Regions from separate parts of the Homo sapiens genome. Here regions 2, 3 and 4 are each linked to region 1. Evidence: promoter capture Hi-C in 16 types of primary human blood cells and fetal thymus (Javierre and others, 2016). All regions are on one chromosome and are shown on one strand. Each heading gives the region's core, a stretch centred on a gene start or on the middle of the fragment in contact. The rest is flanking DNA. Distances are from core to core; before and after follow the strand shown. Region 1 holds the start of LYN (LYN proto-oncogene, Src family tyrosine kinase). Region 2 overlaps TMEM68 (transmembrane protein 68). Region 3 overlaps TGS1 (trimethylguanosine synthase 1). Region 4 overlaps LYN (LYN proto-oncogene, Src family tyrosine kinase).

Region 1 (6,208 bases), core at 2,751-5,250:
TTATGTATAAATAATATTTCATATAGTTGTTAAAATTTTTTTGTAGCCTAAAATAATTCTTAGCAATTTTTGTTTTTCTTTATTAATTCCTTGTATCTATAATCACTTGTGCTAAAGTCACCCATTTTCCCCAGTAATACAGGTTTAATATTCTCAATCCTTACCACTTTACCCTCACACAGAGGCATATATCCATGCTACTTTTTTTTTTTTTTTTTTTTTTTGAGACCGAGTCTCACTCTGTTGTCCAGGCTGGAGTGCAGTGGCGTGATCTTGGCTCACTGCAACCTCCACCTCCTGGGTTCAAGCAATTCTCTTGCCTCAGCCTCCCGAGTAACTAGGACTACAGGTGTGAGCCACCACACCCAGCTAATTTTTGTATTTTTAGTAGAGACAGGGTTTCACCATGTTGGCCAGGCTGGTCTCAAACTCCTGATCTCAGGTGATCCACCCACGTCAGCCTCCCAAAGTGCTGGGATTATAGGTTTGAGCCACTGCCCCTGGCCACATGCTACTCTCTTAAAGACAGAGGACCTGGGGGCATGAGGGCTTGAGGAAGGTGGACGTTGTTCAGAGAGGTGAGCTCCAGGCTAGGGGAGGGCGGAGCACACTCCACCAGTGGTTCCCAAACTTGGCTGCTCATTGGAACCACCTGGCAAGGTTTTCAGTCTCTGATAATTGGGGTTCCCCTCACCATCCCCATCCCCCAAAGACTTTGATTTAACTGGTCTAGGTAGGGCCTGGGCATGGAGATATTTTAGCAGCTCAGGTGATTCTAATGTGCCCCCAGGGTTGAGCACCACTACTCTGTATTATTTGCTACTTGGTAGTTAGGTCTGTGGCCAAGTTGGCAAGAGTTAGGTGGAAGAATACTAGAAGAGGCAGCAGGGGCAGCCCACACAGTGGCAGTGGGATGGGTTGCAGCACAGATGATTTGGTGGACCAACATGAACAGGTGAGCAGCATGACCAATCCTGGCCTCAAGCACCATGACCACGCATGAGATGATGATGGCGGTGCTAATGAAGAAGTTCCTAGAGGTCAGATATTTCATTTTCCCACAGTGGATGATGGGATGCTCTTGTATGCTGCGTCCCATTATTTGTGGTAGTTATGTTCTATAGTCACTGTGAACACTGAATTAGCGAATACCGAGTCACTGCTTCTTAGGTTCCTGTGAGTCTCTGGACACAACATTTTCATTACATTATGATTAATACATAACCTTATATGGTGTGTGTTTCTGTTTAATGGACACCTTATTTAATATATGGCTGATTCATTACATTGAGTTCACAACCAATAGCACAGTAGCTCCTGCCTGCAGGACGGTTCTCCAGTGGGCACGCCACAGCCTCTGGTGCTTAGCAACAACAGACAGCACTTTAGCAAGCTCTACGCTTCGGGCCATTTATTTTTATTTTTATTTTTTTTAATTTTTTTATTGTGGGGGGGGTCTCACGATATTGCCTAGGATGGTCTTGAACTCCTGAGCTCGAGCAATCCTCCCACCTCGGCCTCCCAAAGTGCTGGGATTACAGGCATGAGCCACTGAGCTCAGTCGCTTGGGGGCCATTTTAAACAGCAAAATCACCAACAAAAAGCACAGAAGTGTGGAAAGCATAAACTAAATGGACAGCAAAAAGAATACAAGAAGGCAGAGCATCGCCTTGTTCCACTATAGCTGGGAGGGTGTGCGTGGGGCAACTCAAGATTTTTACTGCTCTGGGATGTGCATATCTATGAGTGACTGGGAAAACACCTCAAGTATTGATTTTGAGATTACAAATACATTTTAGCAAGTAGATAAGTTCACAAATATGATATCTGCAAAAATGAGGATACACTGTACATAACGTATTTACAATACCGCCTTCTCTTGCCCCGCCCATCGTATTCCTTCCTTTCTTCAAAGGCCCATCTATCCTGTCAAGGAGCCTTAATTGATTTGCACCCTGCCTCTGATCACTGCCTTCTGTGCTCAATTTAGAGAAAACTGGTGAGATAAATCAGTCATCAATCAATTAACCAATCAATCAATACTAATGAACTATTTTAAAGCACCCAACATAATTTCTGGGAGGTAGAGTGGGGAATAGATAAATATAAAAGGCAGTGCCTTCCCAAAAGGAGTTTACCAGTAGTTGAGGAGACAAGCCTAACATGGGCAAACAATGCTAAAAAGTACCTAGGTCTAGTTTAAAATAATGTTGCACACCATACATGCTACAGATGCTTTAAAAAGTTGCCTATCAATAGGAGCTTTAAATAAAACTTTCCTGAGAAATAGAACTTTCATGGGACATTAAGAAGGAAAGACAGATATGGAGAATGATTGAATGAAGTATTCAGCAAGTATAAATGCAGCCTAAGAAGTGGAAATTAGCATCGTATCGTTTTTTTCCAAATAAGAATGAAGAGATGAACTTAGTGAGGACAATTTTGTGAGGAGTTAGGGAGTTGGGGATCTGGTTGCAAGCTCAGGTAAGCCTGATGATGCTTTGTTCCTTACCCTGAGAGACATTTTACCAAAAACACTGACAGACATTCCTGATAGATTAACCAATACCAAACGTTTTTGAATCCTATTCTTATTTGCCACACACGTTTAGTCAGGATCTCAAGGATTCATCAGTAGCAGCAGAAACTTTAATGTAGGGTTAATATATTTGAGAGGTCATTCTTAAGAAAAGTCTAGGCAATAGGCCCTCAGGTAGTGAATTATTCTGTAGGATTCATTGTTTTTTGTTTCATTTTGTTTTGTTTTGTTCTTTTTTCATTTTTCTATTTTTCTCCATAGGATTCTTGATAGGTTTCAATCACACACCTTCCCATGGGTATTTCCATGGGCAACCCACCCCTTCTCTTCAGCAGTAAACTAACAACTACATACCAGTGAACATCACAGGTATAAACCACCTTTCTTCTTTTAAGGAATTAGTATGCAAACTTTAGTACTCTTTTCCTAGTAACAAATAACTGCTGTATCAGATTGTGTCACAAGGCAGCTGCTTTGACTTATTGCTCTGTAGCTGGGGTCAGCCTCTTCAGAACATTGTTAATGAGAGAAAGGAAGTGCTTTGGGCAGTGTCTGGCCCATCAGGCCCTCTGTAAATGTTTGCTATTAATGCAATGCTGAGATCCCAGTGAACAGAATCTGGCTTAGAAGAAGTGGGTATCCACGGTGCCCGAGCCTAATCTTACATCTTGGATTTGTAAGTGGCATTTATTGAGTTGAACATGAGCTTGAGCACGCGGTCACACATTCTTTCAGCAAACACTGGTTAGGCACCAGCTGCTACGTGCAAGCACTGCCCTACATGCTGGGACGCAGCTGTAGTAGGAATGAAATAACGCCAGCATTCCTGCATGCGGGCAGTGCGGGCCCTGTACAGAAAGGTACACGAGATAGGCATCCTCACATCCATTGTCCTGGGAGGAAACTGAGGCTTTGAGAAACGGAGAACTTGCCGGGCCATTTGACTCTACGTCATCCCCTCCCCCATCAATGCCCTGAACAGCCTCCTGTACACCCTTAAGGAACTTACTTTGTAATGATTATTAAGAACTCAGCGAGACCCCGAGCATCACCTCGGCATATCGCATCCTTTCTCTAGAGAACCCCTAATGTTGGAAGGGATCAGAGCGCACCTCCTCCGCTCCTGGGAGCACCCCCTTCCTAATAATACCTTGGGGATGGGTCGGAAGGAAAGGAAAGGAGACGCGAGAGGTGTAGTCGATGTGCCTGCGAAGCCCAGGCTCCTCTGGAGATCCTTCCGTCCGTCCCTACAGGAGAAGGCTGGCCCGGGCTGCTCCACTCCCCGGAGCTGCAGACTGAGTCGCCAGGTTTCTGTGCCTTCAAAGCCCTGCGCGACGGCCACACCAAACACCCAAACCTTGGGCAGGGACCAAACGGTCACTTCCCCGCCCTCCGGGCTCAATATGCAAATCCGAGCACCAGGAAGTAGCTGGGACCTCTCGGCCGAGCCCAGAGACAGCCAGTTCCTCTCCCGCCGCGCCGGGCCGCGCTGCCGCTCGCTCCCCGGCCGTGGCGCCTCCGGGCCAGACGCGCTGCAGCCTCCAGCCCGCGGCAAGCGGGGCGGCCGCGCCACCCCCGGCCCCGCGCCAGCAGCCCCTCGCCGCGCGTCCAGCGTTCCCGGCCAGCAGCCTCCCCATACGCAGGTCCTGCTGGGCCGCCCCGTCGCGCCCCCCACTCTGAACTCAAGTCACCGTGGAGCTCCGCCGCCCCGAAACTTTCACCGCGAGCGGGTGAGTCCTCTGCGCGAGCCCAGGGGTGGGCGCGGGCACGCGGGCAGTGGGTGCAGGGGCCGCGGCTGTGCCACCAGCCGGAGTCCCGGGCGCAGGGTAGACTCGGGGCCGGGGGCATCGGCGCGGCCCGCGGCGGCTTCCTGGCCGCACCGCCTCTGGGCTCCGGCGGCGAAGGCTCTTAGATGTCTTCAGCCGACGGGTGACCGGGCCCGGGGGAGCCAGGGCGCGGGGACTGAGGCTCCGCAGGTGTCCGCCGCGGAGCCGCGCAGGGGAGCGGTGGGAGGTGCGGGCGCGGGGGCGGGCTCACCGCGTGTCCTTCCCGGTGAGGGCCCGAGGGCCGGCTGCTGTCCCTGCTCCGGCCGCTTCTCGCACACAGTGGGGAAGCCGCTGCCCTTGCGGAGCGGGCGCGCGGCGGGGATACTGGAGAGGACTCCTCGGATTGTGCAATCTGATCTCCCCTCTGGACCCTGGGTCTCCTGGCAGTGGGAGATGGGGCTCGGCCGGCGCCCTCTCGAGGCCCGCGGACAGTTGCCCTCCCTGGTGGCCCCGGGCAGGAGCGTGACGTCGAGGGGCTGCAGCGGAGGCTGGAACTCACCCTCCCGCTGCGGCGCCTCTCGGCCTGCCGAGGAGCAGTCCGGTGCTTTTGCCGGCTGAGAGGAAGCGAGAGTTATTTTAAGAATTCAGGGGTTGCCTTTCCTTCGCCTTGGGGGAAGGGCGTAAGAGTCAGTTCCCACTTTCCTGCATTCTCTGGGCCCATGGTGGCATCTTTTGCTTGCGGTGCATTCGTAACTTTCCAACAGCCTGCCTGTCATGTGGATTAGCGGTTGTGTTTTTGTATATCCGAGTGTGTTAATTATCCCAAATTCGCCCTTCTTCGCCAGCTCAGAATCTAGGCCTTGCACTTTTCTGGCTGTATATTTAGGGGACCGATTATTGAAATTCCCTGTTTGAGTTTCTTCATCTTTGAGAGAGCATATATACCTCAGGGGCTGTTTAGTACACACAAAGCCCCTAGTACGTACCAAGCATTTCATAAACGATGTTACTGTTATTTATTGCAGTGAATTCTATTCATATAAATGAGGCTTCTTGGTTCTTTGCAGCTTGGTGATGTTGAAGCTAAGACTACCATGTCAGATTTAGCCATCTGACCTTATTAGTAAATCTGCTTAATAAATACATGAGGGATTTGCTGTCCCAAAGCAGGGCCCAGTAGTCTGACTTTCCCTAAAGAACTAGCCAATAAACTGGTGGGCTACAGGGATGTTTTCTCTGTACAGCCAACACCTAAAGCCATGCCCTGGGGAATAGGCACTGCAAGAACCCAGGCCTTACTAAGCCCTTCTCTGTAAGAGTAAGCTTTGTTGGGAAAGGGTGGGATCCAGTTAGTCCCTCCATTCTCATTTGGAGGTAAGCAGGTAAGCGCTTTGAGGCCTGAATAAATTTCACTGGATCATAGAGTCTTTGGTGACTGGGCCTCTTTGGATGTAAATGTGTGGCCCTTTTGCTGAGTGAAGGATAGAGGGCAGCAGATGTAAGGGGAGAGAAAGTAGGAGCCAGGAACCTTGAGTTTTGGCCTCTTCCATCATTTAATATGCTGTGATTTGGGATAAGCCACTTGGGCCATTTATTCAGCCAAGATTTCCTTTATAGCAGCAGCCAGAGTTATATTGATTTGTCTGCAGGTTGATAGTCTGTATTAACCATTACAGTGGAAGCTCCATGAAAACTGCTTCATCTGTCTTGTCCAAAATGATAGCCCCAGTGCCTGGTACATAGTAGGTGCTCAGTTCGAGATTACTTGGAAGAAGGAATGAAGGCCTCCTGTGAGCTTGCCCTATGCAAAACTGAGGACATAGGGAGATGAAGAAATAGAGCTGGTCCCTAAGGTGTTTGAAGCCTACTGGCCCTTTCTGTTGTGGTTTCTAAAACGGGGATT
Region 2 (6,208 bases), core at 1,399-3,898, 120 kb before region 1:
ACTTGGGAGGCGGAGGTTGCAGTGAACTGAGCTCACACCACTGCACTCCAGCCTGGGACACAAGAGTGAGACTCTGTCTCAAAAATAAATAAATAAATATAAATAAAACTAAAAAATACATATTTTTAAAACAGGAAAAATTATTAGTGACTGAATGTAAAATAAAATACCATTTACACTGTTATATATACACAGATATCATAATGCTGTAAACTTTAAGTTCATTCACAAACATAAGACTTCATTTTTATGTATTTAAACAATTCTTTAGAAATTTCCTCATTCTATTCATGAAAAAAACAAACATGATTTTGTACAATCTTATTACATGTGGGGGAAAAACTTTAATCACAGATTTGAACTAGACTACAAGAAAATCTCTGTCCTGTAGAAGCGAGATCAGAGGCTCATGCCATCCCTGCCCCTTCCTTCCACACTGCAAGCCCTATTTTATGTCTCTGTAAACAGAAGAAAGGGTTTCAGTAGTGGGAGTAAATGACAGGATGAAAGGTGGTGGACCTGGAGAAGGGATGACATCTGGAAGCTTCCTGCTAACACAGCCTCAGTTCCAGGCTGGCTGTTTTTTCTCCTCCCTTAGCTAACATTACCTGCCTGCTGTTCTCTATATGGCTACCAAGGCCAACAAATTTACTTCTTACAGCAACGCTGTGCTGTTGGCAGTTAGTAGGGAATAGAAAAGACTTAAGTAAGATCCAACTATGCCTCAGAGGAAAATCACAGAAGTTGGGAAGTCAGGATATTCTAAGGAGTGAATAAAATGGTGATCATGGCACTAGCCATAAGATCCACATTCCCTTCCCATGTCACCACTGTCAGACACACCATTACAGACCACAGCCTCCACGGGTCCTGGCAAAAAGAAAAAAGTGAGCATCCAGAGATCAAGGGCAGAATCAGGCTCAAAGAAAAAGCGTGAAAAAGAAGGAAATCTAGAGTGGTTGTAATAGGAAAGGAAAGTAAGTTCTTAGGGCCATATTCCTCCACATAGAACAGCTGTCTCAAGAAAGGCTGCCACTTGTATAGAAGACAAAAGTAAAGTCCAGAATATGGAAATCTGAAAATATTAGTCTGTTTCTTTCCTTAAGTGTATTCCTGTCTGATCAGCTACGAAATAAACATTCAAAAAATAAAGACTTCAGTCTAAATTCCAGAGCAGAAAATACATTTCTAAAGTAGTTTATAAGGTCTTCACAAAACAGATTAAATTAAGTATGATAACTGTGATTCTAGTATGAAATAAGCTACTCAAATGGACTTGAGAATGTTTTGAAAAATAATTTAATGATATTCCAAGATTTTGTATGTTTCCATATTATATCATTTCTTTCCAATTACATAATTCTAACTCAAGTAATTCAATTTACTTTAAGCTCTACAAAACAGTCACTGAGTTTGAGGATCAACTGTCCCATCAAATACATTTTCTGAGCAATAAAGAAACTCCTTTGAAGGATTCTATACAGAATATTACCAAGGTTCTCTCTGGTTTTACAGAGTATTTTTTTAAATAATAAACAATTGAACTACTCACATAATACCAAACCACCTGGTTGAAAGCAGAAAAATCCAACTAATCAAATATTTAAAAAAAATAGTTTACTATAGTGCCAGTAAACCTTAAAACCTAGGGCTATTTAACTGTGTCACTCTTAGAGCAGATGTGATCATACTACTCCCTGCTGAGAAAGTATCAGTGCATTACCACTCTAGTCCAACATTTTCAAGCCCCTTGAGGCCCCAATTGCCTATAAAGTGACATTACATTATTTCATGTATCATATGAACTAACTGTGGCTCCCAGAGTACTTTTCCACCTTTGTGCTTCTGCTCACATGGTTGCTATTACTTGGAGCACTTCCAGTTCATGTTTCCCTGTCTAGCAGTAGAAATCTTACTGGACTTTAACTCCTCCTCCCTCAAGACTCTACACTCAGTCCCCAAGTTCTGTTTATTTTACCTCCAAGAGCTCTCTCAAATGTATACTCCCAGGTATCTGGGGTTGTAACCTGGCCCTATTCCTAGTATACCTTGGGCAAATAACAACCTCTCTGTGCCTCAGTTTCCTCATGAGTATAATCGGGGTACCACATAGACTCCATTATGTTAATGAGATTTAAAGCAGTTAATTTATATTAAGCAATTGACAGTGTCTGGCATAGGTAGGTGCTCAAAAAAAATTTGTAGGTTCGTTAAGTATGTATGTAGTATTAAAATGAAAATACATTAGTCTAATAAGCATGTCACTGGTGATTTCTGCTAATAGCAGCCTAATAGTTCAGTGATATATATCCTCAAGTGTCTTTTAAAGTCTGTGCTTCCTTCCATGTCCTTCTATGAAACCACTGTGATGCTCAACAACATAATACAGAAAGCCAATGTTTGTTACCTGCCTATTGAATCTTCAGTATTTTTGTGTAGTCTAAAAACAAAAGAGACCAACAAACTAGATATTGTTGGAATAATGAAGTAAAAGTTGGTAGAGTGAAACACTAACCACTTAAAAATAGGCCACCAGAAGGCAATTTTCATGATGGCCAAACAAAGAAGAACCACCAATCATTAAGTATACAACATCAAAATTTCTCGAGTAATAAAGAAAAGAATGACTATCCTGGAGAGAAATCTATTGCTATCTTATTTATTCAGAAAGACACACCAACCTCAGGAATGAATCAACAGAAAATGCATAAATTTTGGTATGCAAATTATATTTAATGTAATATTATTTAATATTTCATTTTTTTAAATCCACACTGGTAGAGTCAAACTTATTTTGAACAGAAGTAAATGCTAAATAATTGAAGCATTTTTAAAGCAGTTTTCTACAGCTTTATTTAGTCTCTTACTCTTTTAGATGTTTTAAATATAAATTTTCTTATTTCAACTTATAGTCTACAGTGCTGCGTGGTTCTTTGTTTAATGGAAACCAACGTCTATGGGAAAACTCATTTTAAGAAAGACACATACATATGCACAATGCATGCAAACAGGTAACAGGGAATAGTAAATATCACTTCTATTATATTTTTCAGTATCTTCTCAATCAATAAAATGGAATGGTAACACAGTTCCAATGCAGCACACATGAATGGCAACACAAAGGTGAAAGTATCCTTGCTTACCATGCCAAACGGCTGCATGTCCATCCCACAGAGTTGCCACTGTTTTCCTTGCACCATCCCATAAATTATGAGAGTAGGCTTCTTTCAATACATTCTTTCTCTTATAAATGTGTAAGAAAATAATAGTAAGGTAGAGAAGAAAGATAGTAAAGTAAGGAAGTATTAAAAGTATTAGTGGTGTAAAAACCCACAAGAGATAGTTTGCAAAATTCAAATAGTCCTCCAACTGCTCCACACCAAACCATTCTTCGAGTATGTGAATCAGACAAATCATATAGGGCACAGAATCCTGTCCTACACCACAGGTTTGATTTTTGTCTATCATTTTTCTTCAGGTGAAAATGACAAATTCAGTTTCTTTCTTCATTGCCATAGCAGGTCGCTAATTTTGACACTAGAAGGGAAAAATAATCCAGTATTATTTTCTCCACAGCTATAAAGTTAAATGTTTTACTCTACTTAAATAGCATATAGAGTCATTTCTTAATACCCAAAATGAGTAGATGGTTAATGGTTAACTTTGTTGCAGATTTAAATGTGAAAATTATAAGGTTTCATCTGTCTGCTCATGAAGTATGTCGTGTTTAGCTTTTGAAATAATTCACTATAATTGAGAGAAGAAAATAAAGCTATAATTAAGAGAAGAAAATAAAGCTGATGAGGAATATAATTTCAGATTGATTTTAATAATTTGACTCACATCTTAATTGGATCATGTTGAAAAATTAGATCTTAAACCAGGTCACATTGAGATAATTTTTTTTTCTTCTTTGAGATGGAGTCTCACCCTTTTGCTCGGGCTGGAGTACAGTGGCACGATCTCAGTCACTGAAACCTCTGCCTCCCAGGTTCAGGTAATCCTCCTGCCTCAGCATCCCGAGCAGCTGGGACTACAGGCATGTGCCACCATGCCTGGCTAATTTTTGTATTTTTAGTAGAGACAGGGTTTCACTATGTTGGCCAGGCTGGTCCCAAACTCCTGACCTCAAGTGGTCCACCCACCTCAGCCTCCCAAAGTGCTGAGATTACAGGCATCAGCCACCATGCCCAGCCATATTGAGATAACTCTGCACAAAAGAAAACATCAATATCTACCTAATTCAGTAAAAGTAACCCAATTCTTTACGAAATGATTACATACATTAATGGATATTGTTTTTTTATAGAGAAACAGATTTACAAAAGTTCATTATGCAATAAAAATTTATCAGTACTGTTTTTATCTTAAATCTTAAATGACTGAAAATATAGCTGTATAATTATTTTACAAATTCACTCTCTAAAACAGTCATTGGACTTACCAGAAGTTAGATAAATATCTTGTCCCAAACTTCAATGTCTCTATTCTGGAAAGCACAGTAAACAAATGTAAGAAATAAATTACTAAGAAAAAAAAAGATAATCATTAATACCTAGAGTTAGCATTTCTATAAAATAAACAGCAAGAGACATTCATAAATGTTTAAGAAATATGATTATAGGCCCACACTGGTATATTACAATTAAAAAGTACACTCATGCTACCATTGCTTTGGTGAAGACAACTCTACACTGTTTAGTGCCACTATATAGAGCCCCACCTAAGAATTTATTTTAAACAAAGTTTTCAAAAGCTTTGTTTCTTAGGAGAAAAAGTATGAAGATATATAACTGACTATGATTCTTTTTAGTAACTTTGCCAGATAACCTGAAGGTGAAACATAACATTCAATTATACAATTATATTAGCCCTATGATAATATTTTCCTACAAAAGATTTCCTTTCTCCATACTTTGATTGTATTCTTAGAACTATTTTATCATTATTCCATACTATATAATCTTACTGAAAATTATCTCAAGTCCTTTGTAGCTGAGGCAAAAAATGAATAAATGAAAGCAAAGGATGAAAGGAGAGGAGGAGATGTACATATAAGAAAAATGTATTGTTTTTATTCTAAGATTATCTTGCTAACTGGCTTATTAGGAGGGCAGGCACTGACTTGTTCTCCCAGGAATGAAACATTTCATCTAACTTCCTTGTAACCAATAGCATTTACTTGTGAGAAATCTGGTCTGTTATGGTTACAGGAGATGAACATAGCAAACATTGAGCCCACAACTTGGGCTTTATTTACATCATCATCTAATCAATCCATATAAAAAGTCAAATCACCAGCTGGGCGCAGTGGCTCACTCTTGTAATCCCAGCACTTTGGGAGGCCAAGGCAGGTGGATCACCTGAGGTCGGGGGTTTGAGACCAGCCTGACCAACATGGTGAAACTCCATCTCTACTAAAAATATAAAATTAGCTGGGAGTGGTGGTGCACGCCTGTAGTCCCAGCTACTCGGGAGGCTGAGGCAGGAGAAACGCTTGAACCTGGGAGGCGGAGGTTGCAGCGAGCCGAGATTGCACCATTGCACTCCAGCCTGGACAACAAGAGTGAAACTCCGTCTCAAAAAATAAAAATAAAAAAAGTCAAATCACTATAATTTACCCATGTTTGATCATTTAGAATGCAACATAGCAACCATCCATCAGAACTACTAAAAAGGTCTTCCTTATACTTAACTTCCCCGTAACTTTTCCCTACTGGACCTAGTTTTGTACCACAGACCCTCTTCCATTAAACAACCTTGTAAGTTTAAAAACAGCTGCCATGAGCCACAAAATTCCTTCTCCAGTCAGAATCCTTAATTCTTTCAACTACTTCTCAGCCCCTGGTTTCTTAAGCTTTCAGCACTCAAGACCACTCCGAGTTGCTGACTCCAGTTATCTGATACTGACAACACCATGTACGGTAACCCCTGTGCCTCCGTTTGCTAAAACCTATAAAACTAGGATAATAATCCTAACTACCTCATGAGATTACTGTGATTACATGGGCTAATCTGTGTAAAGAGCCTAGAATACCTTACATGTAATCAGTGTTACATGTTTGCTATCGCTATCATTCATAGAATCACAGCAGCTTTTTTGGTAACTCGATCATACTGACTCATTCAGCTAAAAATATGCTACTATTTTCTACATCTCTACAAACTACACTTGAAAAAAACCTTTTTGAGCCCAGCAAAGATTATA
Region 3 (6,208 bases), core at 2,728-5,227, 94 kb before region 1:
TATTTATTTATTTATTTATTTATTTATTTATTTTGAGATAGATTTTTGCTCTTGTCGCCCAGGCTAGAGTGCAGTGGTGTGATCTCAGCTCACTGCAACCTCTGTCTCCCGGATTTAAGCAATTCTCCTGCCTCAGCCTCCCTAGTAGCTGGGATTGTAGGCGCCTGCCACCACGCCCAGCTAATTTGTGTTTTCGATAGAGATGGGGTTTCATCATGTTGGCCAGGCTGGTCTCAAACTCCTGACCTCAGGTGATCTGCCCACTTCAGCCTCCCAAAGTGCTGGGATTACAGGTGGGAGCCACTGTGCCCAGCCTTAATTTTAGTAACTAGCAGTTATAGTAATAAATGCTACCATGTATTAAGCATTGTGCTAAATATTTTACATATACTATCAGTCCTTACAACAACTCCATGACAAATGTATTATTGCCTCTACATTATAAGTGAGGGAAATGTATTAGCAGATTGCTTTTCTGTTTCATAAGCTTTTTATTAATTAATCTATGATGGCTCGAGATTTCTTTCCCTCTAAACTGATGGCTTAATTCATTTCAATATGAACTGCTTAATCTGCTTCGCAGGGATCGAAAATTGTACAATTTGGGATTAAAAGGCTATTACATCAGAGACAGTGGCAACAATTCAGGTAATATAGTATAAAATTCTATAAACCTTTTTTGCTGAAATTAGCCATAATGTGTTAATTTATGTATAATTTGTTATAATATTGTATTGATTTGTTAGCATAAAATATAAATGCCAAATAATTCTGTAATCAGACAATTTTTATTTTCTTTTATAACATGGTTCTGGAATCTCTATGAAAGCAGATCTTTTATTTTTCTATAGCTCCTGTGCTGACTTAATGTAGCCTCTTTTGCTGTGTGTAGTGTTCCTTCCTGAGTTGCCACCATTAGATAAGAGCAACCTGGAATTTAAAGCTTTGAAAAGTAGGGAATATGTGGTTTCTGGCTGGACGTGGTAGCTCATGCCTATAATCCCAGCATTTTGGGAGGCCAAGGCAAGCAGATCACTTGAGGTCAGGAGTACGAGACCAGCCTGGCCAACATGGTAAAACCCCATCTCTAATAAAAATACAAAAATTATCCAGGTATGGTGGTGGGCACCTATAATCCCAGCTACTCAGGAGGCTGAGGCAAGAAAATCCCTTGAACCCAGGAGGCAGAGTTTGCAGTGAGCTGAGATTGTGCCACTGCACTCCAGCCTGGGCAACAGAGTGAGACTCCATCTCCAATTTAGAATATGTAAATTCTAATCATAATACACTTCATGAGAAGTGTATTATGTAGGTAAATGCTGCAGGATAAAAAAATGCTACGGGATAAAAATTCCAGGTGAACATCTATAGTCTTTTGCCTGAAGTAAAGAGACTGTCATCTTGGTTAACTTTCCCAAGTAACAAATATAATTTATACTGTACATTGAGCCTCACTTTGATGTCTCAAACTTCCCTACTGCATTTGTCCTTCCACATAGACCTTTTGTGTTCCTAGACACAGAGAAAATTACAGCGTGGAGTTAGAAGCCAAAGTCAGCCCAAGTACAGTGTCATAGTTACCTTCGGAAACCCTTTAACTCTCATGGCGATGGAACAAATTACTGTTTCTTCAGTTGATCACTGGATGGAATGTTTGGTTTGTGTTTCAGTGCTATGCTATACAAATAAAGTTCCTATAACACTAGGCTCCTCGAGCATAAGAAAATATGCATACAATGAAAGGAACATAAAACTTAGCTTACTCATTTTCTCCATTTTGCTGTCTCCTGAGCTTTCGTAAGTATATTTGAATGGAGTAGTGAGTGGAATCCCCTTCATTATTTAGAAAGGTATCTTTCTCCCTCTTGTAGCAGAATTTGCACACAAGAGATTTCTCTTTATCAGTCTTCATTTTGGCTATATAAGATTTACTGTTCTGTTGCCTGAGACCATCAAGCTGGAGTGCAGCCCAATGCTAATTGAGTGTGCTAATACATAAAATGATTTTTTGTTATCTCACATTTTAAAGTTAATAGAGCACTTGAATGGCATATGTTCAATTAATGGTATAATTACTATTAGATAACCATATTGGTGTAAAGTAAAACTTACTTTGTTGTAATAAATGGTTTTTCTATAAGAATTAGATTCAGAGAGCTTGAAAAAAATCTTCCAGTTTAGGGGATTTCAAACCTTTCTCTTTTTGAGAGAGAGAGAGGGTCTTGCTCTGTTGTCTGAGTGGTGATCGCTTAAGCATTCCTCTCACCTCAGCCTCCCAAGTAGCAGGAACTACAGGCACCACCACACCAGGGTAGTTTGTTTTTTGGTTTTTGGTTTTGTTTGTAGTGACAGGGTCTTGCTGTGTTGCTCGGGCTTATCTCAAACTCCTGGCCTCAAGCAGCCTCTCAAAATGCTGGGATTAGAGCCATAAGCCACTGTGCCCAACCCCAGGATTTCAAACTTCTAATAGCAGAATCCTTTTGTTAAATCAGCTCTTCCACAGAATCCCGGAACCTAAATCCCAGTTGTATTGAAGTGTCTGTGAGGGGCATGAAGACATGCTTCTCACCCGCTCTTGTTAATACCTCCTAAAATAACTTCACAAATCATGATTTTTAAATTCACTGTCTTAGTTCAGTAATTTTGCAGATAAAGAATGTGAACATATAAGTATTTTCTCCACGTACCAGGGTTACATGGCCTGTTCTGTCTTCCTTCCATCCTCAGTATTTTGCACAGTGCCCAACATAGAGCAGATGCTCAATAAGAGTAAGTTAAATGGGCAGCTGGATGAATAGTGGCAGGCAGAGCCCAATAAGAAATTGATTCTTCCGTTGATTCTTCATTGGCTTTTTTTGTTACTACTCCATATTACTGTCAATTGGTGTTTTTTGTTTTTTGTTTTTTGTTTTTTTTTTGAGACAGAGTCTCGCTCTCTCACCCAGGCTGGGGTGCAGTGGCACAATCTTGGCTCACTGCAACCTCTGTCTCCCAGGTTCAAACAATTATCCTGCCTCAGCCTCCTGAGTAGCTGGAATTACAGCCTGGGCCCAGCTAATTTTTATATTTTTGGTAGAGACGGGTTTTCACCATGTTGGCCAGGCTGGTCTCAAACTCCTGACCTCAAGTGATCCGCCTGCCTCAGCCTCCGAAAGTGCTGGGATTACAGGTGTGAGCCACCGTGCCCAGCATACCGTCAATTGTTTTTTTGTTTGTTTGTTTTCTTTTTTCCTTTAAAAATTGTAACTTTGCAGGCCAGGCAAGGTGGCATGCAACTGTAATCCTAGCTGCTTGTGAGGCTGAGGCAAGAGGACTGACTGAGCCCGGGAGTTCAGAGCTTTTTAGTGCATTATGATCACACCTGCAGATAGCCCTTATACTCCAACCTGGGCAGTGTTGTGAGACCCCCATCTCTAAAAAATAAAAAAAATTGTAACATTTGCATACCTTTATTTTGGGCGGGTCACTCTGGATCTCAGGTTTTTTTAAATGAGAATAAGAAAACCTGCCTCTTAAGTTTTCCTTAAAACTAAGCTAATAAATGGTGTCTATAGGAGACCAGGCGACAGAAGAAGAGGAAGGTGGTTATTCCTGTGGTACTGCAGAATCACATGACAGCAAAGGCATAGGCCTGGATGAAAGTGAACTTGATTCTGAGGCTGAACTCATGAGAAGTATGGGATTGCCACTTCAATTTGGTAGGATAACTGCACATAAGGATTTTGAGGTAAATATTAATTTACTTTTATTATTTCTCTCTCTTCGTTTTCTTTATAAAATATCGCAAGGAATTACTTTTTATCAGATTATATGCATTCACGATCAGCGCTCTCTACCTCTTTTTAAATGTATGTATTTATAAATTAACCAGAACTGAAAGTTGTAATATGTCCCAAGTGTGACTGTTCCTCCTCTTGGAAACTTAGATAGTATATCACTTGTTTGTGGAGCTAAAAGCCCATAGTGGGGCTTTAGAGTATTTTGTTTAATTTAATGTCAAAATAGACTTGGATTCTACTTTCTTTTATAGTTCATAAAGTGCATTTTATATTCAAGTTATTTATCTGATATAGGTATCTATGAATACTAGAAATAAAGTTAAAATAAAAAAGAAAAAACATCAAAAGAAATACTTAGATGAAATTGTGCAAGAATCTTGGAGAAAAGAATATGAAGAAGACGACATTTTGGCTTCAGATGATCCATCTTCAATTGAACAGTATGAGAACACCAGAACATATGAACTTCAAAGCAAAAAAGATACTGAGACAGAAAATCCTCCAGTTGAAAACACATTATCTCCAAAGCTAGAAATTACAGAGAAATGGGAAAAGTATTGGAATGAATATGGAGGAGGACTATTGTGGCAAAGTTGGCAAGAAAAACATCCGGGTCAAGCACTATCTTCTGAACCTTGGAACTTTCCTGATACAAAGGAAGAATGGGAGCAACATTATAGTCAACTTTATTGGTATTATTTGGAACAATTTCAGTATTGGGAAGCTCAGGGTTGGACTTTTGATGCCTCGCAAAGCTGTGATACAGATACTTACACATCTAAAACAGAAGCTGATGACAAGAACGATGAAAAATGCATGAAAGTTGACTTAGTATCTTTTCCATCTTCACCTATTATGGTTGATAATGATAGCTCTGGTACAAGTGATAAGGATCATAGTGAAATACTTGATGGAATTAGTAACATAAAACTGAATTCAGAGGAAGTAACACAGAGCCAATTAGATTCCTGTACAAGTCATGATGGTCATCAACAGCTAAGTGAAGTTAGTAGCAAAAGAGAGTGCCCTGCTTCCGGCCAAAGTGAACCACGTAATGGAGGAACCAATGAGGAAAGCAACTCATCGGGGAATACAAACACAGACCCACCAGCTGAGGGTAAGATTAACCAAGATTTATTCTGCCATGTAATGGTTAGCAAAATGAATTCATTTAGCAAAATAACTACTAATCCTTTATTGTAGAGTTAAATAATACCAAGTACATTTCATATAATAATGAAATGATTTAATCCATCCTGTTTTCATATCACAAGTTATCCTTTTCTATTAATAAGAATATTTGCATGCAGTTCTCAAAAGTATCATTCCTTCTCTTGTACTTTGGTGGCTAATGAAGGAAAATGTGGAATCTCTTGAGAAATCTAATATAAAGTGAGCTTGGAACTTTTAGTTTTCCACAGCAAATGAATTTATAAGAGGCATGTTAGAAAGCAATTGAGAATGTACATTTGACATTAGGCAAATGTCTTATGAGTCATATGTGGAATTCACTTAGGACAAGTGAAGTCTTGCTGTGAAAAAAAGATCTCAATGGGGCACAATATTAATTTATAACTGGAATGGTTAATTTCAGGATTCTCATCAATAAAATATCCAGGATAAGGAACTTGATTGATTCCTGAATAACTGATCCAAAAAAAGCTAATTGTGCAAACTGGTGCCACTCAGGACTAGAGAATGCCAATGAGAAGTGTTTTGAAAGGAGTTAATCTGAGTACGGTGCGATGAGAATGTTTACTTTGCATTGCTGTAAAGGAATACCTGAGACTGAGGAATGTTTAAAGAAAAGAGGTTTATTTTGGCTCACAGTTTTGCAGGCTGTACAGGAAGCATAGTCTCAGCATCAACTCCTGGTGAGGGCCTCAGGAACCTTCCAATTATGGCAGAAGGTGAAAGGGGCATAGGCATGCCACATGGCAAGAGAGAGAGCAAGAGAGAGGGGGGAGGTCCCAGGCTCTTGTTAGCAATCAGATATTGCAGTAACTCATTACCATGGGGAGGCACCAAGCCATTCATGAAGGATCTGCCCCATGACCCAAACACTTCCCACCAGACCCCACTTCCAACATTAGGGATCACATTTAAACATGAGGTTTAGAGGGGACAAACATCCAAACCCTATCAGTGCTCTTGCTGGGGAGAGGCTTCTGCCAATTAACAGCACCAGGAAAATGGGAGAGGAGGAAATTTCTGTGACATCTGCATATCCTGAAGTTTTGGCATCCTGATGTTACATGCTGAAGACATCTAGTGTAGAGGAACTTTCTTCTCAGCCTTACTCTTTTGTGAAACAAATGGTTTTGACCTTTTACTTAACAATCAGATTTGCTTTGCTTATCTCAGATTGCTGATAATACTTCATCCAGCTGACAGTTTCTAAAGAGCTCTGTCAACTTGCTTTTTTTCTC
Region 4 (6,208 bases), core at 1,890-4,389, 86 kb after region 1:
CATCTTCATTCCATATGGTATTGGTGAGATGCATTCATGCTTTTGGGTGTGGCTATGGTTTATTCATCTTCATGCCATATTGTGCTGTGCTGCATGTGTTTTCAAGATATACGATCATTTATCCATTTATTTCACCATTTACTGATGAAATTGGAGTTCATGTTAGTCCATTTTGCTTTGCTAAAGGAATACCCGAGACTGGGTAACTTATAAAGAAAATGTTTATTTGCTTTACGGTTCTTCAGATTTTATAAGAAGCATGGCACCTGTCTCTGCTTCTGGTGAAGCCTCAGGAAGCTTCCATTCAAAAAGGAAGGCAAAAGGGAGTGAGCATGTCACACAGTGAGAGCAAGAGAGTGACCAGAAGAGGTGCCATGCTTTTAGACAACCAGCTCTCTTGTGAACTAATAGAGCGAGAACTCACTCTTTACCACGGGGATGGCCCCAAGCCATTCATGAGGGATTCATTCCCATGACCCAAATACCTCCCTCTAGTCCCCACCTCCAACACTGGGGATCAAATTTCAACATGAGATTTGGAGAGGACAAACATCCAAACTATATCAGAGTTTTTCCCAGTTTGGGCTGCTATGAACAATGCGCTGCACATTTTTGTGCCTCATTTTTGTGCTGATGCAAGCATGCATGAGCTCTAGGGTGAGTGGGAGTGGATTTGCTGGATCGTAAGGTGTATGAATCTTCAGCTCTTCTAAGTTATTGCCAACTTATTTTGCAAAGTGCTGGTCCCAGCTTAAGATTCTCACCAGCAATATGCCAGTCCCCACGTCCCCTTTCCTGACTAGCAGAGCTGTACTTAGAGAGATGTGGGCCCCAAGGCAGCACAGGCAGTGGGTGGTTATCCGGAAGGAAGTGTGCACTCAGCATCCTTCATGGACACCTTGGATGTTGTCACAGAAGCTCTGCAATTGAATTTCAGTGATGCTCAGCAAAGAACACAGAATGAGGCCTAGGGCAGCTGCTCCAGAGTCCCTCCCAAGGGGCAGGTGCTCATCAGCACTTGATATTACCAGACTTTAAAAATTTTTGCTGAGCTCGGCAGTGGTTTCTCATGACTTTATTTGCATTTCTCTGGTTGCTAATAAGATTGAGTACTTTTCACGTGTTTATTACTCATATGAATTTCTTCTTTTGAAATGCCCTTCCAAGTCTTTGCCTATTTCTTCTGATTTTTCTTATTGATTTGTAAGAATTCTTTCTATATCCTGGATGCAAGTTCCTTGCAGTTATATGTATCATATAGTTTATGTATTTTCATCTATTTTATATCATGTATTTTCCTGCTGTGATTTGCTATGGATATGCTCATGTAACTTAGGGTTAGAGTTAGGGCTGGGGTTAAGGTTAGGGTTTATAAACGTTAAAAAATTTATAATAAAACCTTTTTGATTTAAATGTAATATTAAAAGGCTTTTGTTGGTGGAATGTACTTTACAATAACTCTTAAGATCTACAGAAAAGGCCATATTGCTTGTAATTATGCATTTAGATGTCAGAACAATTTAATATATTCATAATTCCATTATTTTAGGTAGGTGGTAGCTTTTTAAAAGGACCTAGGATGGTTTTTTTTTGTCAGCTTTATGTTACTATCTTCTCCATATGTTCTAACACTTATCTTGTACTGCATTTTTCTTTTTCTTTTCTTTTTTTGTTTTGTTTTAGAGAAGGGGGTCTCACTATATTGCCCAGGTTAGTCTTGAACTCCTGGGCTCAAGCGATCCTCCTGCCTCTCAAAGTGCTGGGATTACAGGCATGAACCACCTTGTCTAGCCTCATTTTTCTATAGAGCACTGCAAGCTCCTAAGTATTAACCAAAGTGGAATACAAAATAAAACATTTTAATAGAGGAATCAGTCTTAATGACCAAAAGAAACATCATTGGATAGGTTGACTGCTAGCTATAAATAAACTTTTTATTATTTGTTTGAAGGCTTGGAAATAGATGTATAATACATTTCTTTATTATTTAAAAAAATCATTTTTTAAAAAGTACATACTTGGCTGGGCACAGTGGCTCATGCCTACAATCCCAGCACTTTGGAAGACCAAGGTGAGCAGATCAGCTGAGGTCAGGAGTTCAAGACCAGCCTGGCCAACATGGCAAAACCCTGTCTCTCCTGGAAAAAAGAAAGAGAAGAGAAGAGAAAAGAAAAGAGTACATACTCATTGACAAATCCAATCAGAATAGAAAAGAACAAGAGAAAGTAGAAGTCACTCCAAATTCTACCAGCCAGGGATAATCACTGTTGTTTTACTCAGCAGGCTTCCAGTCATCTTTCTATGCTATTCACATACAGATACTCTTGCACCCTAAAAAGGGGACCGTCCACTCCACGTCACCTTTCCTTAGGTGGATAGGGCAGGTGCTATCCAGCTTTTGCGCACCAGGCAGCAGGAACTGCAGGAAGATTTGCAGTGACACCAGCAGCTATTACTCCCTTCTCCCCATTTTTTTTTTAACATTTCCAAGAGAAAGATGGAAGCAGAAGAGAGGACAGGAAGGAAGAGTATGATTATTAATATTTCTGCTTTGCCAAATTACTGAGAAAAGGCTTTCCCAAGAGAAAGTCAGGATTAAAGTGCTCAATCCCAGTCCCAGAAGGGTGGTGCCTCGGGGGAACTATACTAAGGAGTCAGTATTGCCCAGAGCGTGTTCCATGCGGTGTAAGAGGCTACTTGAACAAGTGTTCTGAGGTCAAGAAATTGTGGGAAACGCTGGGGTGAACAAATGCAGGCTTTTCCCCTGAAGGCCTCCCAGGGCACCTGCTGCATCTCCTGGGTGGGGGAGGAGTGGAGGGAGTGGCTCCCTGTCCTTTTAGTGGGGGATCCTTTTTCACTAACAGTCACCCAAGTCCAGTTGTCTGCAAATTTTGGGAAGTGCTTGTTTGACTCTAGCATATTGTACTTTAAAGTTAGTATATATAAGTAATTTTTATAAAGAACACCTTTTTTAAAGAAAATGTGGTAAATAGTTAAAGATATGGTGAACAAAATTAAAATCGCTCGTAATCACACCATTGGAAATAACCAGCATTTGATATATTTTGGTGTCTTTTCTTCCAGACTGTTGTTTATATGTGTGTGTCTGTGTATCTATAAAATATGTCTGTATTTTAAAATGGGGATTATAATGTGAGTGTATGCCTGTGTGTGTATGTATATGTATGTAAGGGATTATAGCATATATAGAGTTTTGTTTTGTTTTTTTTGGTCTTGAATAAAGAACATTTTATTATTAGAGAAAAATATTAGTCCTCGGCTGGGCACAGTGGCTCATGCTTATAATCCCAGCACTTTGGGAGGCTGAGGCTGGCGGATCACTTGAGGTTAGGAGTTTGAGACTAGCCTGGCCAACATGGTGGAACCACGTCTCTACTAAAAATACAAAAATTAGCCAGGTGTGGTGGTGGGCACCTGTAAACCCAGCTACTCAGGAGGCTCAGGCATAAGAATCGCTTGAAACCAGGAGGTGGAGGTTGCAGTGAGCCAAGATCGTGCCACTACACTCCAGCCTGGGCGACAGAGCAAGACGTAGTCTAAAAATAAATAAATAAATATTAGCCCTCATGGTAGAGTGCCAATAAAAACGTTTTTTTGCTACTATTTCATAGAAACCTTTTGATTTTTGAATAATTTAAACATTTTTTGGTAAAGAAAGAAAATTCCTAGATACTTTTCATCTAGCCTCCCCTAATTTTATCACTACATAGTGTTTTAACTCAGGCTTTTTCTATCTGTAATTAAATTTTTTGCTAACTCTGCATCTACAAAGTGAAGTTTTAATTTTTTTTTTTTTAATTGAGACGGAGTCGCACTCTGTCACCCAGGCTGGAATGCAATGGTGCGATCTCAGCTCACTGCAACCTCCACCTCCTGGGTTCAAGCAATTCTCCTGTCTCAGCATCCTGAGTAGCTGGGATTACAGGCGCCTGCCACCACACCCAGCTAATTTTTGTATTTTTAGTAGACATGGGGTTTCACTGTTTTAGCCAGGCTGGTTTCGAACTCCTGACATCAGGTGACCCACTCACCTCGACCTCCCAAAGTGCTGGGATTATAGGTGTGAGCCACCTCCCCCGGCTAGATTTTCTGTTTTATAAAGCATGCCCGCCTTCTTTTTTCTTCCTAGGTTACTATAACAACAGTACCAAGGTGGCTGTGAAAACCCTGAAGCCAGGAACTATGTCTGTGCAAGCCTTCCTGGAAGAAGCCAACCTCATGAAGACCCTGCAGCATGACAAGCTCGTGAGGCTCTACGCTGTGGTCACCAGGGAGGAGCCCATTTACATCATCACCGAGTACATGGCCAAGGGTGAGTTCCTCCCACTGCCCAGAGCTTGCAAGGGCTTCAAACTCAAAAAGTAAAATGTGTAAGTGTTCAGAGGTCACTCAACTAGTTTAATTATCAAACAGTATACCCACTACCGAAAAATCAGGAAATATGGGAAGACAAAGCAGTTTATAAACCTAATCACCAGAAGTAATCCATGTCACAGAATTGAAATCTAATCCTCCTGTTTTCTCTGCATCTGCCTGCGTGTACCTATTGCCCTGAGAATAGTACCCCATATCTAGTAGCCCCCAATAAATATTTATCAAATGAATTACTATGTATTTCAAAAAGGAATTTTTGAAATACATATGCTTAAAATGTGAAGAGTTCCCAGAATTCTAATACTACAGATTTAGTACGGATTGTTCAGTACCAAATTCCTCTTTCATTTTTTTTTTTTTTTTTTTTTTTTTGGAAACAGAGTCTCACACTGTTGCCCGGGCTGGAGTGCAGTGGTGCAATCTCTGCTCACTGCAACCCCTGCCTCCCGGGTTCAAGCGATTCTCCTGCCTCGGCCTCCCTAGTAGCTGGGACTACAGGCACGTGCCACCATGCCCAGCTAATTTTTTGTATTTTTAGTAGAGATGGGGTTTCGCCATGTTGGCCAGGCTGGTCTCGAACTCCTGAGCTCAGGCAATCTGCCTGCCTCAGCCTCTGAAAGTGCTAGGATTACAGGCATGAGCACCCAGCCTCTATTTGTTCTTTAGCGTTATCTAATATTCATTTTCCTTTTCAGCATTATCTAAGTGTTCAGGGTGTCACTTTTAAATATTAATGTTTTTTAAAACTTGTGGAGGTTAAAGTCCTATGTAATCATAGAATTGCTGGAGAATAGACTTCAAGCAATCAATTTTTCTTCTACTGTGATCACCTTCATATACAAGACTTTGAATCAACATCCTTCTTCCTTTGTTCACCTCCAGTTCAGGAAACATACTAATAAACTGCCAAATTATTTTTTACGAAGTCCTCAGAAGTAATGAAGAAACATAAGCAATGATCCAGGATTAACAATCATCTCATGCACAATGGAGATGATAGTATGATGTCATAGCTGAATAGATTCAAAAGATGAATATTACATTTTCTTATTTAATATCTGTGAGTATTTCAAAATATCAGTCACTCAGAGTCTTTCCAAACAATGGCATTGTTTGTTTTAAAGCAAACAAACCAATTAGCTCTTGTGGCTTGGGTTGCCATATATAGCCCAGAAACCAGGCTCAGGGCCAGACACCTTATAGGAGTTCAGTAAATATTGTTGAATTAATTAACTTAGAGTATTCCTAATGATAGGTATAAATATGAGTTTTCCTATGTAACAATGCCTAATATATATATATATTTATTTTTTTGAGACAGAGTCTCACTCTATCACCCAGGCTGGAGTGCAGTGGCACTATCTTGGATCACTGCAACCTCTGCCTCCCAGGTTCCAGTGATTCTCCTGCCTCAGCCTCCCAAGTAGCTGGGATTACAGGTGCCTGCCACCATGCCTGGCTAATTTTTGTATTTTTTAGTAGAGACAGAGTTTCACCATGTTGGCCAGGCTGGTCTTAAACTCCCGACCTCAGGTGATCTGCCTGCCTTGGCCTCCCAAAGTGCTGGAATTATAGGTGTGAGCCACCAAGCTTGGCCAACAATGCCTAATATTTATTGAGCACTTACTATATGCCAGACTGCTCTTGGTGCTTTCCATGGGTGATCTCACTTAGTCTTTTCAGCAGCCTGAGGGCTAAGTACTATTGTTCTGTGTCATAGATGAGATAGCATAACGTTTACTGAGCACTTGCTACCTGTCAACCATCATGGTATGTGCTTTGGATGCAACCTTTGATTCCAACCCCCCAAAAC

What was found. Contacts are between HindIII fragments. The CHiCAGO score rates a contact against its expected background, and 5 or more counts as called.
Region 2: a fragment that was not itself captured here is called in contact with the fragment with the promoter of LYN in region 1 in 1 of 17 cell types (neutrophils); the score reaches 10.1 in neutrophils.
Region 3: a contact is called between a fragment that was not itself captured here and the fragment with the promoter of LYN in region 1, in 2 of 17 cell types (neutrophils and naive B cells). The highest score is 11.6, in neutrophils.
Region 4: a contact is called between a fragment that was not itself captured here and the fragment with the promoter of LYN in region 1, in 7 of 17 cell types (neutrophils, total B cells, naive B cells and 4 more). The highest score is 20.3, in neutrophils.

The regions. Positions count from the first base shown.
Region 1 is chr8:55,875,835-55,882,042 of GRCh38, forward strand. LYN (LYN proto-oncogene, Src family tyrosine kinase) reads left to right here and starts at 4,001. Exons shown (of 13, transcript NM_002350.4): 1 at 4,001-4,269. RefSeq lists enhancers at 3,095-3,184, 3,745-3,804, 5,984-6,093 and silencers at 3,955-4,014, 4,035-4,204, 4,285-4,574, 4,605-4,784. The HindIII fragment of the contact is 13,046 bases long and covers 1-5,626 here.
Region 2 is chr8:55,759,492-55,765,699 of GRCh38, forward strand. It overlaps TMEM68 (transmembrane protein 68), which reads right to left. Exons shown (of 8, transcript NM_001286657.2): 2 at 4,445-4,489; 3 at 3,144-3,537. The coding sequence starts at 3,468. Among named protein-coding and RNA genes, the nearest start is that of TMEM68, 11 kb to the right of the region's middle. The HindIII fragment of the contact is 4,212 bases long and covers 543-4,754 here.
Region 3 is chr8:55,782,165-55,788,372 of GRCh38, forward strand. It overlaps TGS1 (trimethylguanosine synthase 1), which reads left to right. Exons shown (of 13, transcript NM_024831.8): 2 at 584-648; 3 at 3,555-3,727; 4 at 4,074-4,896. Among named protein-coding and RNA genes, the nearest start is that of TGS1, 12 kb to the left of the region's middle. The HindIII fragment of the contact is 6,073 bases long and covers 942-6,208 here.
Region 4 is chr8:55,962,565-55,968,772 of GRCh38, forward strand. LYN (LYN proto-oncogene, Src family tyrosine kinase) reads left to right here. Exons shown (of 13, transcript NM_002350.4): 9 at 4,151-4,333. Among named protein-coding and RNA genes, the nearest start is that of SNORA1B, 63 kb to the left of the region's middle. The HindIII fragment of the contact is 5,688 bases long and covers 296-5,983 here.